Regions from separate parts of the Homo sapiens genome. Here region 2 is linked to region 1. The links are contacts of gene promoters, found by promoter capture Hi-C in human tissues and cell types (Jung and others, 2019). All regions are on one chromosome and are shown on one strand. The core of a region is centred on a gene start or on the middle of the fragment in contact, and the rest is flanking DNA. Distances in the headings are between cores, read along the strand shown.

Region 1 (7,070 bases), core at 2,626-5,125:
TACTGGGTTATATGGTAAGTAAGTGTTTAGTTTTTGGCTGGTCTCAGTGGCTTGCACCTGTAATCCCAGCACTTTGGGAGGCTGAGGTGGGTGAATCATTTGAGGTCAGGAATTCAAGACCAGCCTGGCCAACATGGTGAAACCCTGACTCTGCTAAAAACACAAAAATTAGCTGGGCTTGGTGGCATATGCCTGTGATTCCAGCTACTCGGGAGGCTGAGGCAGGAGAATTGCTTGAACCCAGGAGACAGAGGTTGCAGTGAGCTGAGATTGTGCTGCTGCACTCCAGCCTGGGTGACAGAGTGAGACTCTGGCTCAAAAAAAAAAAAGTTTCCTTTTTAAAGAAACTGCCAAACTATTCTTCAGAGTGGCTGTACCATTTTACATCCCACTAGCAATGTATGAGACATAAAGTTTCTCTGCATACTCTTTTGTCACTATTTTTTATTTTAGTTTCTAACATATAATTTTGAAAATCAGTGATAGGCATTGAGTTTTATTGATTACATATTTTGGCATTTATTGAGATAATTTCAGTGTGTCTCTTATTGGACCTATTAATGAATTGTATTATTCTATGTATCTATATGTATATGTTTTAAATGATAAAAAGATCAAACAGTATGAAAGGGGAAACAAGGTAAAGTAAATCTCGTACCATTCCTATTAGAGTTTCCCTCCTCAGAGGCAATCACTTTACCTGATTCTTGACAGTGTAGGGACTATATCTGTATGTTAACAGTAGCATATCACATGCACAGTACTGTAGCCTGCCTTTTCACTTTATTTATTTATTTATTTAGAGATGATGTCTTGCTCTGTCACCCAGAATAGAGTGTAGTGGCCCAATCATAGCTCATTGAAGCCTCAACTTCCAGGGCTCAAGTGATCCTCCCACCTCAGCCTCCCAAGTAGCTGTAACTATAGGTATGCGCCCCATGCCTGGCTAATGTATCTTTTGTAGAGATGGAGTTTTGCCATGTTGCCCAGGCTGGTCTTGAATTCCTGGACTCAAGCCATCCTCATGTTTCAGCCTCCCAAAGTACTGGGATTATAGGTACAAGCCACTGCATCTGGCCCATTTAATATCTTACAGACCATTCTATATCAGTACGTAGGGATCTATTCTCATTCTTTTTTACAGCTTGCATAGCATTCTGTTTTTGTTGTTGTTGTTGTTGAGGAATGTGCCAGTTTAATCAACCAGGTCTTTTTTGATAGACATTAAGGTTATTTCCAGTTCTTTGTAATTACTGACAATGCTGCAGTGAATACTCTAGTACACTGGAATTTGTGCCCCATGTAAGCACTAATGTAGGATAAATTCCTGACATGAAATTGCTAGGTCAAGACATTGAGGTTGGAATAGCTGTGCCAAATTGCCTTCGAAGAGGCTCAAACATTTTAAAGTCCCATCAACAATGAACAAGAATGTCTTTCTCTACAATATCTTTTCTTTCTTTCTTTTATGAGACAGAGTTTCACTCTGTCACCCAGGCTGGAGTGCAGTGGCGTGATCTCTGCTCACTGAAACCTCCACCTCTAGGGTTCAAGTGATTCTCCTGCCTCAGCCTCCCAAGTAGCTGGGATTACAGGCATGCACCACCATGCCCAGTTAATTTTTGTGTTTTTAGTAGAGACAAGGTTTCACCATGTTGGCCAGGCTGGTCTCGAATTGCTGATCTCAAGCGATCCACCCGCCTCAGCCTCCCAAAGTGCTGGGATTACAGGCGTGAGCCACCACGCCTGGCCAATATCTTTTCTAATTTATCTTTTCCAATCTGACATCTAAAAAAATAGTATTTCACCGTAAGTTGCAGTTCTTCTATTATGAAGTGGCTCAGTATCTTTTCATTTGCTTAAAAGTTATCTGTATTACTTTTCTATTAACTGTGGGTTCATACCCTTTGCCCATTTAATGTATTATTTAAAATCAATGTTTAGCTAGCAAAACACCGCTTTCCTATTTTCATTTGCTCAACAACCTCCTCAGAGGCAGGAGGTTCCTTCAGACAGGTGTCCCCCGTCCTCTGCAACCAGTTACCTCTTCTAACTCATAAATGCCTCCTTCCCCAACACCACTGTCTGTTCCCAAGGAAGGGCCCCTTTATGGTCTCATCAACATCTCACAGCCCTCCCAAAATTATGTGCATGCTCTCCCATCCCTCCCCTCTGGAGTGCTCTTTTCCCAGTCAAACCTAACCAGTCCTTCAGGGTCCAGCCTAATTCCACCTGTTTGGGCACCTTTCTGAATAACTAGTGCTCACATTGCATACAGTCTCACTTTCAGGCGCGCCTCCTCCCATCAATCAGAGCCTATGTCCCGAGAAGGCTGGGCCTGACAACAGCTGGAGCCCAGCTGCTGCTCTGTCTTTGCTCAGTGTGTGTGTGTGTGTGTGTGTGTGTGTGTGGCCGGGAGTCTGAGTGTGGAGTATGTTTCATTCACTCATCCTGCAGTTTTTTTTTTTAGACTGAGTCTCGCTGTTGCACAGGTTGCAGGGCAGCGGCGCGATCTCGGCTCACTGCAACCTCTGCCTCCCTGGTTCAAGCGATTTTCCCGCCTCAGCCTCCTGAGTAGCTGGGATTACAGGCGCCCGCCACCACGCCCGGCTAGCTTTTGTATTTTTTTGGTAGAGACGGGGTTTCACCATGTTGGCCAGGCTGGAATAGAACTCCTGACCTCAAGTGATTCACCCGCCTCGGCCTCCAAGAGTGCTGGGATTACAGGCCTGAGCCACCGTGCCCCACCCCATCCTACAGTTATTGAATGCGTAATGCATACATGAGTCAGGTGCTGTTCCAGGCATTGGAGACCAGGCAGTGTATGAGGTAGATCAAAGCCCCTTCTCTCATCCAGCTGACATGTTGGAACTAATATACAACAAACAAGACAAACACAAATATCAATTAAATGTAAACAAGTAATGAAATAGCGAGGGAAGGAGGGGAAGGATTTTCTTTGCAGAGGGCTCAGGGAGGGCTCCCCGAGGAGATAAGATAGGAGTAAAGACCCGAATATGAGAGGGTGCCGCCACTGCAAAGAGCTTTGCAGGGCCCCCTAGAGGCCCCGCCTGGCCACCGCTCTTCCAGAGATGGACGTGCTGCCGAGCCCTCAAAACCCCTTTTTTCTGTTACTTGACAGAAACTGAAGGCAAGAGCTTGCGATCCCTGCAACCTCAGTGGTGTGTGGCGGTAACCCTGCTCCCTCCTGTTTCACATCCCAGCTGAAAACTTGGGAAAATGAAATCGCGCTCGGCCTGCCGTTGATAGAGCACCTACTACATGCCATGGTCCGGTTAAGCACTTTATGCGATTGTTACTTCATTTAATCTACACAACAATCCCGTGTGGACTCGATTAACCTTACAGGGGAAGAGAAGGAGGCTGGGAATATGGCAGGAACCTGAGTGTTAACTTGGTTCACACACAAGCGGAGTTCCCGGGTCGGGAAGTTCTGTGGTGCGGGTCGGCTGGGGTTTACTGAGCGTTCGGGCGCTCGCCGTTTTCGGAGTTGGTCGGGTCCAACCGCGCGCCCCGAAGCTGCCCAGGCGCGCCCGCCAGCGGCCCCCGCCAGCGGCCCCCCGCGCCGCCCGGGTCTCCCGGCCTCGGGGGCAAAGGGGAGCGCCGGTGCCAGCAGGCTGGGGGCGGGGAAGGCTCGGGGACAAAGGCCGCGGGCACTGCGCTGGGTTGGCCGGAGCGGCTGCGAACTCCGGGCGCCAGGACCCGGCCGGGCGGTCGCTCCCTCAGGAGCCCGCGCCTGGATGGAGCGCCTCGCGGCGCCGCCGGGCCACGCGCAGGCCGAGCCCCCGCCACCGCCCCCGCCTCCGCCCCTGCCCGCGCCCCCGCCCCCTCCCCCCCACCCCGCGGCGGCTCCGCGCTCGGCGAACATGGCGGCGGCGACGGTCGGGCGGGACACTTTACCTGAGCATTGGTCCTACGGGGTGTGCCGGGATGGCCGCGTCTTCTTCATCAAGTGCGGCGCGAGGACCCGGGGACGCGGGGACGCGGGTGGGGGCGCGGGGGCGGGGGCCGGGCGGGCACCCGGCGGGCTGTGGCGGCGCTAACAGGTGCACCTCTCTGCCCGCAGTGACCAGCTCCGCTGCACGACCTGGCTGCATCCGCGCACCGGGGAGCCCGTCAACTCGGGCCACATGATCCGCTCAGGTGGGCGCCGGGCCGGCGGGTGGGGGGCGCGCGCAGCGGCGGCCCAAGTTTGACCCGACTTTTCTGGCGTTTCCGCAGACCTGCCCCGCGGCTGGGAGGAGGGCTTCACGGAGGAGGGCGCCAGCTACTTCATCGAGTGAGTGAGTGGGGCCGCCGCGCTCGCACCTGTGCCGCGGGGGGGGGGTCCCTCCCCGTTCCCGCCGGGCGCCCCGCCCTTCCTCTGCTCCCGCCGGCCCGGGCTCGTTGGCGCGCGCTGCGCCGCGGCCACACTCAACGTTTTGTGTGCCCAAGTTGTTTGGCGGCCTCCGAGAGGAAGGCGGTGGGGGCCGCACCTACGCTGGGGACCTGGGCCGGGGGGGAAGAGGCCGCAGACTCTGCGCCCTGGACCTTGCAATCCGGCTGGATTCGGGTGCTGGTGTGCGGGCTGGGCACGCCTCCCCTCTAGGGTCTGGGGCTGCGCCCCGCCGGGAGAGGCGAGTGCCGGGACCTGGATGGGCTCGGGTGGGAGGAGTAGAACGAGAAGTTCTGTCCTGGTGTGGGCCTGCGGGGTTGGAGTGGGGAGAGGGAGAGACTAGGGGAATCTCGCTTAGGAGGACGCCCCCTCTCCCGCCGCAGGCTCTGGGATGGTCTTGGAGAGTCGGAACCTCGCCCCCGGCCTCCATCCACTGCGCGGGCCTGCGGGGAGGGAGGGGGTGGGGAAGGGAACTGGTCAACCAATGACTTTCCTCGAGCGCTCCGCGTCTCTTCGGCCGGAGCTGAACCGGGGGATTGCTGGTGCTTCCGTTAGTCCACGGGCGACTTTTCCGCAAAAGCCCCGGAGTGTTGGCGCACCAGCCAGGTTACCCTGGGTCTGTAGGATCAGTCCATGTCAGATTGGGGCGCAGTAAGTGAAGGCGCGGGTCAGGCTCCTATGCCAGTACAGGCTTTGCTTTCCCACTCCGGCGGGAGTCTGTGTTGCAGCGTGTTTCCCTCTGCCTGCTGAGCTCCGGGAGGCCAGACACTGCCTTTGACCCCTTGCCCCAGTGCCGGACAGCAAGTAGGCACTCGGTAAATGTTTGTTCACTGAATGAATCAGCTCGCCAAAGGTCTGGACGGTGGTCTGACTAGTACTGACTGGGTGTACCTCGGCGACTGTGAGTCAGAACTACTACTGTTAGGAATAAAGCAGCCTATTTCAAGAAAACCCCGGAACCTCCTTTTCTGGTTTGGGTTCTTGCATAATAGTTGAAAATACTGATGGGTGAGATTTACAGACCTAAGGACTAGGGCCTTGCTGCGGTTCTATTGCCCTGCCTCATATGTGTGTATGTGAAGTTGGGGAGTTGGCTGGGGCCATCAGAGTCTTGCTGTCAGTGGGCCTCTCTGGCTCATAACTGCATCAGTTGATGTTATTACAATTTTCCTGTGTGCCACACGTTCACACGTTGTTCTAGGCATTGGGAACAAAAAACAGAAAAGTTCTAGGTGCTCATGGAGCTTGCAATCTAATAGGAGAGGGAAGGGAGTAGAAAATAAGTAAAAAACACAAATAATAATATCAGATCGTGGTTACTACTGTGCAGAAAGTTAAAATAAGGTGATGTGACATGGAGTGACTGGGTGGCTTGGTTGTACTGGGAGATCGGGATGGTGTTTCTGAATAGGCAACATTTAAAGTAAAATTTGAATGACAAGAAGGAGACATCATGTGATGATGAGTTGGCAAAGCATTTCGGGAAGAGCGAACAGCCAGGGCAAGGGCTTAAGGCAGAAAAGAGCTTGGAGTTTAAGGAGCAGGAAGGCTGGAATGTGGTGCACAAGGGAGAAAGTGGCATGAGGAGAGGTCACAGGTAGGAGAAAGGTAAATGCCGCAAAGCTTTGTGAGCCGGGGTGAGGAATTTTCATACTTTATTCTAAGCCCAGTGAAACGTCATTGGAGGGTTTTAAGCAGGGAAATGGCATGATTTGGTGTGTGTTTTTAGAACGATCACTGTGAGGAGATTGGATTGTAGGTGGCCACTGCAGGGGGAGGCAGGAGAGCAGCTGAGGCTGTTGCCCTCTTCCAGGCAGGAGTTAGAAGTGGCTTGCCTGAGGGTGGTAGCACAGTAGACAGGGAGTAGTGGTCACATTCAGGCTGTGTTTAGGAAATAGGCTCTTCACACCTTCATGATGGACTGAATAGTCTGTGGGAGAAAGAGAAGAGGCAAAGATGACTCCTCAGGGCTTGGGCACCTGAGTGGATAGCATTCATATCGTTGAGATGGGAAGAGCCGGTTTGGGGTGGAGGAGAATCATGAGATCTTGTTTTGCCATCTTACATTTGAGATATGAGTATGTCAGATAGTGTGATCTGAAGCTTGGTGGGGAGAGAGGACAGAAGAGACCCATTGGGTATAATAGATGTTATTCAAGGCCATGGGATTAGATGAAATCCCCTAGGAAGAGAGTACAGACAGAAGAGAGATGTTCTGAGGCTTTGGATGGTCAAAGCAGTGTTTAGAGGGGTGAGAGGTGAAGCCAGCAAGGAGACTGAGAAGGACTGAGAAGGTAGGAGAAACCCCAGGAGAATGCATGGTCACAGAAGCCTTAAAGGACAAAATCTGACTGGAGTAGGTGGAAGATAAAACACGGGGTGAAGACAGGGAGTCAGTTAGGCAAATCTTCCAGGTAGTTTTGTTGCAAAGTGGAGTTGAGACATTAGCCGGTAATTGGAGAGGATGTGGGTTTGAGGGAGGGTTCTTTTTTTTGGTGGGAGATTGTACAGCATGTTTGTTTTGATGGGAATGATCCCACTGAGAGGAAGAAGTCGATGCTGCAGTAAAGAGACGGGGCAGTTGCTGGAGCAGTGTTTCTAAGAAGGTGAGAGGGATGGGATCCATGGCCTGCATCTCACTAGCGTCACCCAGGGGCAGGGCCCATCATTCATT
Region 2 (7,070 bases), core at 1,710-4,209, 76 kb after region 1:
TGTGGTGCCCCTTTCTATGAGCTAAGTTGTTCATGAGTGCCTTGGAAACCATCTTCCTTTTCAGAGAAAAACAATAGAGATCCAGGTGTTCAATAGAGCAGCCCAAAGATAGATAATGAGTCTCTCATCATTAGGGGCATCCAAGCTGGACGACCAGTCAGCAGGGATATTATAAAGGGATGGGCCCTGAGCTTGTGGATTGCTTCCAGCTCTGAGATTATGGAGCCTTTGTTCATTAACATTTGACCCATCTGGGTAAGGACACCCTAGGGAGGGGTACCCATTTTTGAAGAGCAAAGAGTGACCTCAGGGATTTGCCACCTCCTTCACCCAGCCAGTAAGGGAAGCTCACTTGGACATCGCTTCTACTACTTTTCTTCTCCTGAGTGTAGTTATTTCTTGGAGGTAAGTGCTAGGGTTGAGTTGGAGAAAGACATGCCACATCTTCACTGAATCGTTTATCCAGAGAGTGGAGGGCACCTGGTTCTTGGTGTCACACTCAGCCCTAAAATTCCTTCCCTAGGGGATGGAATAGATAGAAATGACTTCAGAGCCACCTGGCTAGGGAGGACTGGGCCTGTTGTCTACAGCCCTGGGGAAGCCACAGGCAGCTTTAATTCAGGGCTCCATCACTCCTCCCCTTTTGTTTGCCACTCTGTACTTGCCTATGGAAAGTGAAAAAACAAAGGCACTATGTTGGATTCATTTGTCCTTTAAAAAAACAAACAAAAAAAGGTAATTATCTTCATTTTTGAACACTTACTGGTTATGTCAGGCAGTTTATTCACTTTTAAAGGAACCATTTCTTGAGCATCTACTAGTACAAAGCATCTGTTAGCCACCAGAGAGAAAAACAAAAGAGGCCAGGTGCAGTGGCTCACGCCTGTAATCCCAGCACTTTAGGAGGCTGAGGCGGGCGGATCACCTGAGGTCAGGAGTTCAAGACCAGCAGCCAATCTGGTGGAACCCCGTCTGTACTAAAAATACAAAAAAATTAGCCAGGCATGGTGGCACCTGCCTGTAGTCCCTGCTACTCAGGAGGCTGAGGCAGGAGAATTGCTTGAACCTGGGAGGCAGAGGTTTCAGTGAGCCCAGATCACGCCATTGCACTCTAGCCTTGGGTGACAGAGCAAGACTCTGTCTCAAAAAAAAAAAAAAAAAAAAAAACAGCAGAAGAAAAGATCTGAGATACTTCTCTTCCCTTACCCCAAAATAGTTCTTCCATTTTTTCAGAGTACCTACTATGTGCCAGCCACTGTGCTAGGGGCCAGAGACACAGGGCTGAGAAGACACAAGTGGTACTTCTTCCCCTGGAAGTTACAGCCCAGTAGGGGAGATAGGAATGTTAAAGTTTTGATTGTTTATGAAGAGGGAGACAGATCCACACAGCTAACCCTTCTTGCCCCCAGCACCAGTGGCCCTGGCTTTGGCTTGGCAAATGTGGTACCATTCTCTGAACCATTGGGTTTCTTACTCACTTCCTATGGTGATGTCTGGGTCTCATCAGATCTAGGGGTCAGTGAAATGCAGCTGGTCTGTTACCTCTGCCCAGAGAGCTCAGGGTGAGTCCCCAGTCCCTTCACCCCACACACATTTTCTATCCCAAGGCACCCTTTCACTCTTCATAAACTTTGCAGCAAACCAGAAATTCTCTGGCTCATTAATAGAAGGAAGGCCTTGTTGGGGTGGAGTAGGGTATGTTGCCAAGCTAATTGGTTTGGGGAACATGAGGAGAGAAAACACGAAAAAAATCAGTGGCCCTGAATGATTTACTTTGTGAGTGACAGCATCTGCATAGTTTTAAAACTAGAATCTGTGCATTGCCTGTGCAGTATTTCTTTAACTTTAAGCATTCCTGTCTCACCTCTGCATTTTTGCAATACCCGTGTAGTATTTTTCTTTAAATTGACTCAATAAAAACTAAATACGTAAATTTTTAAAATTTCCTATTATTTTAATTAATCTTCATAGCTTTTATCTATGTTGTATAGCTAATATTCATAGTATATTTTTTCTTTTTATTTTTTTTCTTTAGATAACAGAGCCTTGCTGTGTCACCCAGGCTGGAGTGCAGTGGCACGATCTCGGGTCATTGCAACCTCTGCCTGCCAGACTCAAGCAATTCTCCTGCCTCAGCCTCCCAAGTAGCTGGGGTTATAGGCGTGCACCACCACACCTGGCTAATTTTTTGTATTTTTAGTGGAGACAGGGTTTCACCATGTCGGCCAGCCTAGTCCTGAACTCTTGGCATCAAGATGATCTACCTGCTTCAGCCTCCCAAAGCGCTGGGACTATAGGAGGGAGTCACTGTGTCCAGCTTATAGTATATTTTTTCAAATGTTCTTGCCACATTGTCAAAGATCTTGGGCATCCTTAGGTATTTGCTCCATTTAGGAAGATTCTGCCTAAGAAATTCATGAATATTCCTCTAGGAGATCTTTGAATCTTCTAAAATTCAAAATTGTGTTTATTATTGTAAAAAATTGTGTTTGTGTATTTCTTTCCTGGGAAAGACAGTCCAAAGCTTTATTCAAGCAAGGACCAGAGAAGGGTAAGAGCCACAGTTTGTGGTTTCTTGAATTGTGTCTGATTATTATTTACAAAAATTTCATTTTCCCAGGAAGAGGAACATTGTTGTTGTTGTTTTTTACAAGAAATGGATGTTTTATTCCTAAAGCATTCTATTTTTTAATGAGGTGCAGATAAACTGCACATTGAAAAATGGTCTCTCCCACATCTCTTTCTCATCTCTATTCTGTTTTCGGCCTTCCAACATGTGAATGTTAATCACTATAGGAGGAAGGTGACTATTTTCTGATCCAAAAATCATGATGTATGGTCTGATTAAGGATTTTTATGTATATATCATGCCTTTCAAAGGTATAAAGGGAGAACTTCAGTTACACATTTAATGAATTTTCTTTATTAAAAGAGAAAAATTGAAAAAAAAAGTGAGGGGGGCACCTATCTTAGAATATTGAGAATGTAAGTTCACTAAATGTATTAATAGACCAGTAAATGTTTCAGAGAAAAAAATGAGCACAAGGAAAGCTACTCGTTGGGGCATAAATACATGATAAAGGGGCTATGGGAAAAAGCACCATCATTCTAGATCACACAAATCAAACAGAATGCACCATTTGTATAAATGCAGACGAAGCCACGTGTCTTTCCCTGCTTCTAGGGTAACACACCAGCAAGGGGACACAAAGGGCACCCTGTTCATTCTTTCCATCTCAACCCCTTAACCTTAGGAAGAATATTAGAACATTTGTGTTTGCATCCTGCCTCCTTCCTCTGAAGGTCCATGAACACTAGATACAATGATAAAATAGAAATAGGAATTTGAAATCAGGACTAGGGAAAATATAAGTAAGAGGAAAAGGACAAACCCAGGAGGTTGGGAAGAATACGAAGGCACTCACATTAAGGGTCTGTGTTTCTGCTGAGCTGCACATTTGACTTGGAGCTTCCTGGCAGCCAAAACAAGAAGGAAACAGGGTAAGCTTTCTGGATTTTACTGTTAGAAAAGAAAAACATCGTCTGAGTGCTGTGGCTCACACCTGTAATCCCAACACTTTGGGAGGCCGAGGCGGGTGGATCACCTGAGGTCGGGAGTTCAAGACCAGCCTGACCAACATGGAGAAACACCATCTCTACTAAAAATACAAAATTAGCCAGGCATGGTGGTGCATGCCTGTAATCCCAGCTACTCAGGAGGCTGAGGCAGGAGACTCGCTTGAACCTGGGAGGTGGAGGCTGCAGTGAGCTGAGATGGCGCCATTGCACCCCAGCTTGGGCAACAAAAGTGAAACTCCATCTAAAAAAAAAAAGAAAAGAAAAACATCCTAGTTAAGGGATAGCTAAGTGCTTCCTAGTTTGTTTCTTTAAGTTAAATTTCTTATAAACAAGGTCCTCTTCAACTTTCTTCTTTGTCTTATTCACTCCTCATTATATGGCTCCTCAGACTGGGCCAATTTCTCAATTTAGGTGGCTATGATACAGATGGTCGTATACCTCTCTTCTGTAGTGTTTATCATAGATGTACATTCTCATGTGCTTAGATGATTATTTTGAAAGCTTGTGTTCTCTACTAGACTATATACCTCATGAGACTTGGGCCATATTGTCCTCAGTGCCCAGCACAATCTTGGCACATGGTATACCCTCAATAAATATTTGTTAGAACAAATGAATAAGGCCAAAGCATTCAGGGATTTTATGTGACTGATTCTTGTAGTGTCTTCCCAGGAAATCAAGGCCCTTTCAAGCGTGCAAACTGTCTCTTGTCCAGAGAGCTTGGTGGCCATCTCCAAGCTCATTTTACTCCACGGTTATTAACAATTTGGAGATTGTTAATAACAACGACTCCAGGTTATTAACCTGCTATAAATCCAATCCTGTAATTGGTACTTGATACATGTTGCTGGTAGTCCTCAAAGATGAGGGAGACTGAGGCTCAGGGGGAGGGAAACAGCTTGCCCAAGGTCACATTGCTGGAAGGCATGCTCTTTCCTTTCTGCCTGCTGTTTCTGAGCCAGAGCTACAAGTGTCTGTGTGAGTTATGGGTTCTTATCTCTTGGCAATTAGAGCAGCTCAGCAAAGGTATTTCTGGCACAGGCCATTGCTGCTTTCTGACAGCTGCTACATTCCAATATCGCCTGAGTTTAGGGAAAAGAAAGCCCACACCTGGGGTTGGCAAAGATAGTCTCAGAACTCATTTTCCCTGGTTTCTGCACATGGTGAATGTGTTTATTGTTCTTGTCACACTGTCTCCTGAAGTGCAGATGCATTAAAGTTGAATATTATTTTCATAAAAGCCACTGGAGAGAAAGGGAGAGAAGAGGCATGATTCGGGTGTCTCCAGGAATATAATTGGATTTGCCCAATGATTGGGAGAGTGGAGGTGGGAAATGACAACATGCCAGGAAGTACATTTGATGGTGCTTTTGATTCCAAATTTGTTAGGCATGTGTTTTTAATTGCTTTGTCCCTGTTGTCATTATTCTAATAGAGACCTGATTTTTTTTTTTTTTTTTTTTTTTTTGAGACAGAGTCTCACGCTATTTCCCAGGCTGGAGTACAATAGCATAAGCTCGGCTCCCTGCAACCTCCGCCTCCCGGGTTCAAGCAATTCTCCTGCCTCAGCCTCCCGAGTAGCTGGGATTACAGGCACCTGCCACCACGCCTGGCTCATTTTTTGTATTTTTTAGTAGAGACAGGGTTTCACTATGTTGGCCAGGCTGGTCTTGAACTCCTGACCCTGTGATCCGCCCACCTCGGCCTCCCAAGGTGCTGGGATTACAGGCATGAGCCACTGTGCCCTGCAGAGACCTGATTTTTCAAAAGGGGTTCATTATCATATTAAACTTTCTCTATTCAGCAAGGTTGGCAAATGGGATGTTCTCCTGGCTCAGTGTTGCCACCTACCGTGTGCTGCATAGATTGTCAGTCTTCAAAATATTAGAAGGCAGTAAAACACATTTCAAACTGCAACAAGGCATAATTTGATCCGTCTGTTCTTCCACAAGGTTGCAAGTCTTCAGGGTGAACATTATAAGCATCTGTCATCACTGTGTGCTCTTGGAGTGCCAAGATACTGGTTATAGTGAATTCTGGTGATAAAAAAAATGCTAGACAAAAATACCACTTTTTCTTTGGTCCCTTGAGAATGAGCCTCAAAAACATGTGCTGCTTGCACATGGGGATCTGAATAATTGCAACATTCAGGATTATGTAGAGAGAGTATCCCTGAAGAAGGCACTTAGGGTGGTGTTTGCAAATGTCACAAGGCTTTCAGTTCTATCTTTGGCCCCCTAGTCTCAGTAAGGATTTTGGCTCATATCAGTGATTTGGAAAACCTAATAACTTTTATGTCTCCAAAGTTGTGTTTCCAGACTGCTGGCTATTTCATATTTTAAAGCATGTTTCTACCTTTAAAAGGACACCAGAGAATAGCAGTGGGCACTGACATGCCTTTACCCCTCCCCACACTAGAAAAGGACCGACACATTTAATCTTTTTTTTGAGACGGAGTCTCACTCTGTCACCCAGGCTGGAGTGCAATGGCACGATCTTGGCTCACTGCAACGGGTTCAAGCGATTCTTCTGCCTCAACCTCCCGAGTAGCTGGGATTACAGGCATATGCCACCATGCCCAGCTAATGTTGTATTTTTGTGGAGACGGGGTGTCACCATATTGGCTAGGCTGGGCTTGAACTTCTGACCTCAGTTGATCTGCCTGCCTTGTCCTCCCAAAGTGCTGGGATTACAGGCGTGAGCCACCATGCCCAGCCTCACATTCGATATTTATTTGTGGATAGATTTAGGTTCTTTTTCCCAATTTCCCCACAGTAGCTTTGACAAGTCTTATTTGGAAGAAGTAACACAGTTACTGAACTGGCGTCTTGTTCCTAGTTTGAATGGTAAGAGCCAGAAAATCGCCCATTCACATGTAGTACATTAAGATTTCACCTACTTTCCCCAGAAATTATTGTTTAGGCAATTAGGGACAGAAAAGTATGAAAAATACAGGTGCTAATTATAACCAGACTCTTTTTTTTACTGTAAGAGATAAAAATTTCAAAGTATTTTACATATTAATTAGGATATTTCCTCCCCTTAACCTCTAATTAATATCCACAGTAAACAACCTTTATTAATTACATGAATCTGAACATTTAATATCCAGGAATATGAAGACCATACACTGAGTATTCATTTATTGCTTATCCTGTTCCACAGTGGATTTGAGGTAACTTATGGGAAAAGGGTGAAATATGGATAACAAAATAAAACAATCAGGATCAATAGGAATATAAATTATATTAGGAGATTAAGCCTAAGGAGACAAGGAGAATGGCAATAGCCTGGTACTGTTTCTGTTTAGGTAAAAAGCCAGTTCATTGGACAAGTTGATGTAGCCATTTTTTAAAAAGCGACTTGGAAGCTACTCTGGGTTTTGGAAAGCTCTGTGTAAACATGGGCTGCTTCATGTTCCTGACATTTCAGCTGAACTTTGAAAATTGCTTTTTTTTTCCCCTCCAAACCTCTACCTGACCCCCAGCACA

What was found. The method cuts DNA at HindIII sites, captures the fragments that hold promoters and counts their contacts. A contact is called where the count stands out against the background at its distance.
Region 2: a fragment that was not itself captured here is called in contact with the fragment with the promoter of PLEKHA7 in region 1 in 6 of the 25 tissues and cell types used here (H1 embryonic stem cells, heart left ventricle, liver and 3 more).

Annotation. Positions count from the first base shown.
Region 1 is chr11:17,011,219-17,018,288 of GRCh38, reverse strand. It overlaps PLEKHA7 (pleckstrin homology domain containing A7), which reads left to right and starts at 3,875. Exons shown (of 27, transcript NM_001329630.2): 1 at 3,875-3,973; 2 at 4,088-4,164; 3 at 4,243-4,300. The coding sequence starts at 3,888. RefSeq lists a silencer at 5,173-5,467 and an enhancer at 5,352-6,113. The HindIII fragment of the contact is 16,980 bases long and covers 1-6,259 here.
Region 2 is chr11:16,934,379-16,941,448 of GRCh38, reverse strand. All of the region lies in intron 3 of PLEKHA7 (pleckstrin homology domain containing A7), which reads left to right. Among named protein-coding and RNA genes, the nearest start is that of SNORD147, 12 kb to the right of the region's middle. RefSeq lists an enhancer at 5,100-5,611. The HindIII fragment of the contact is 5,345 bases long and covers 287-5,631 here.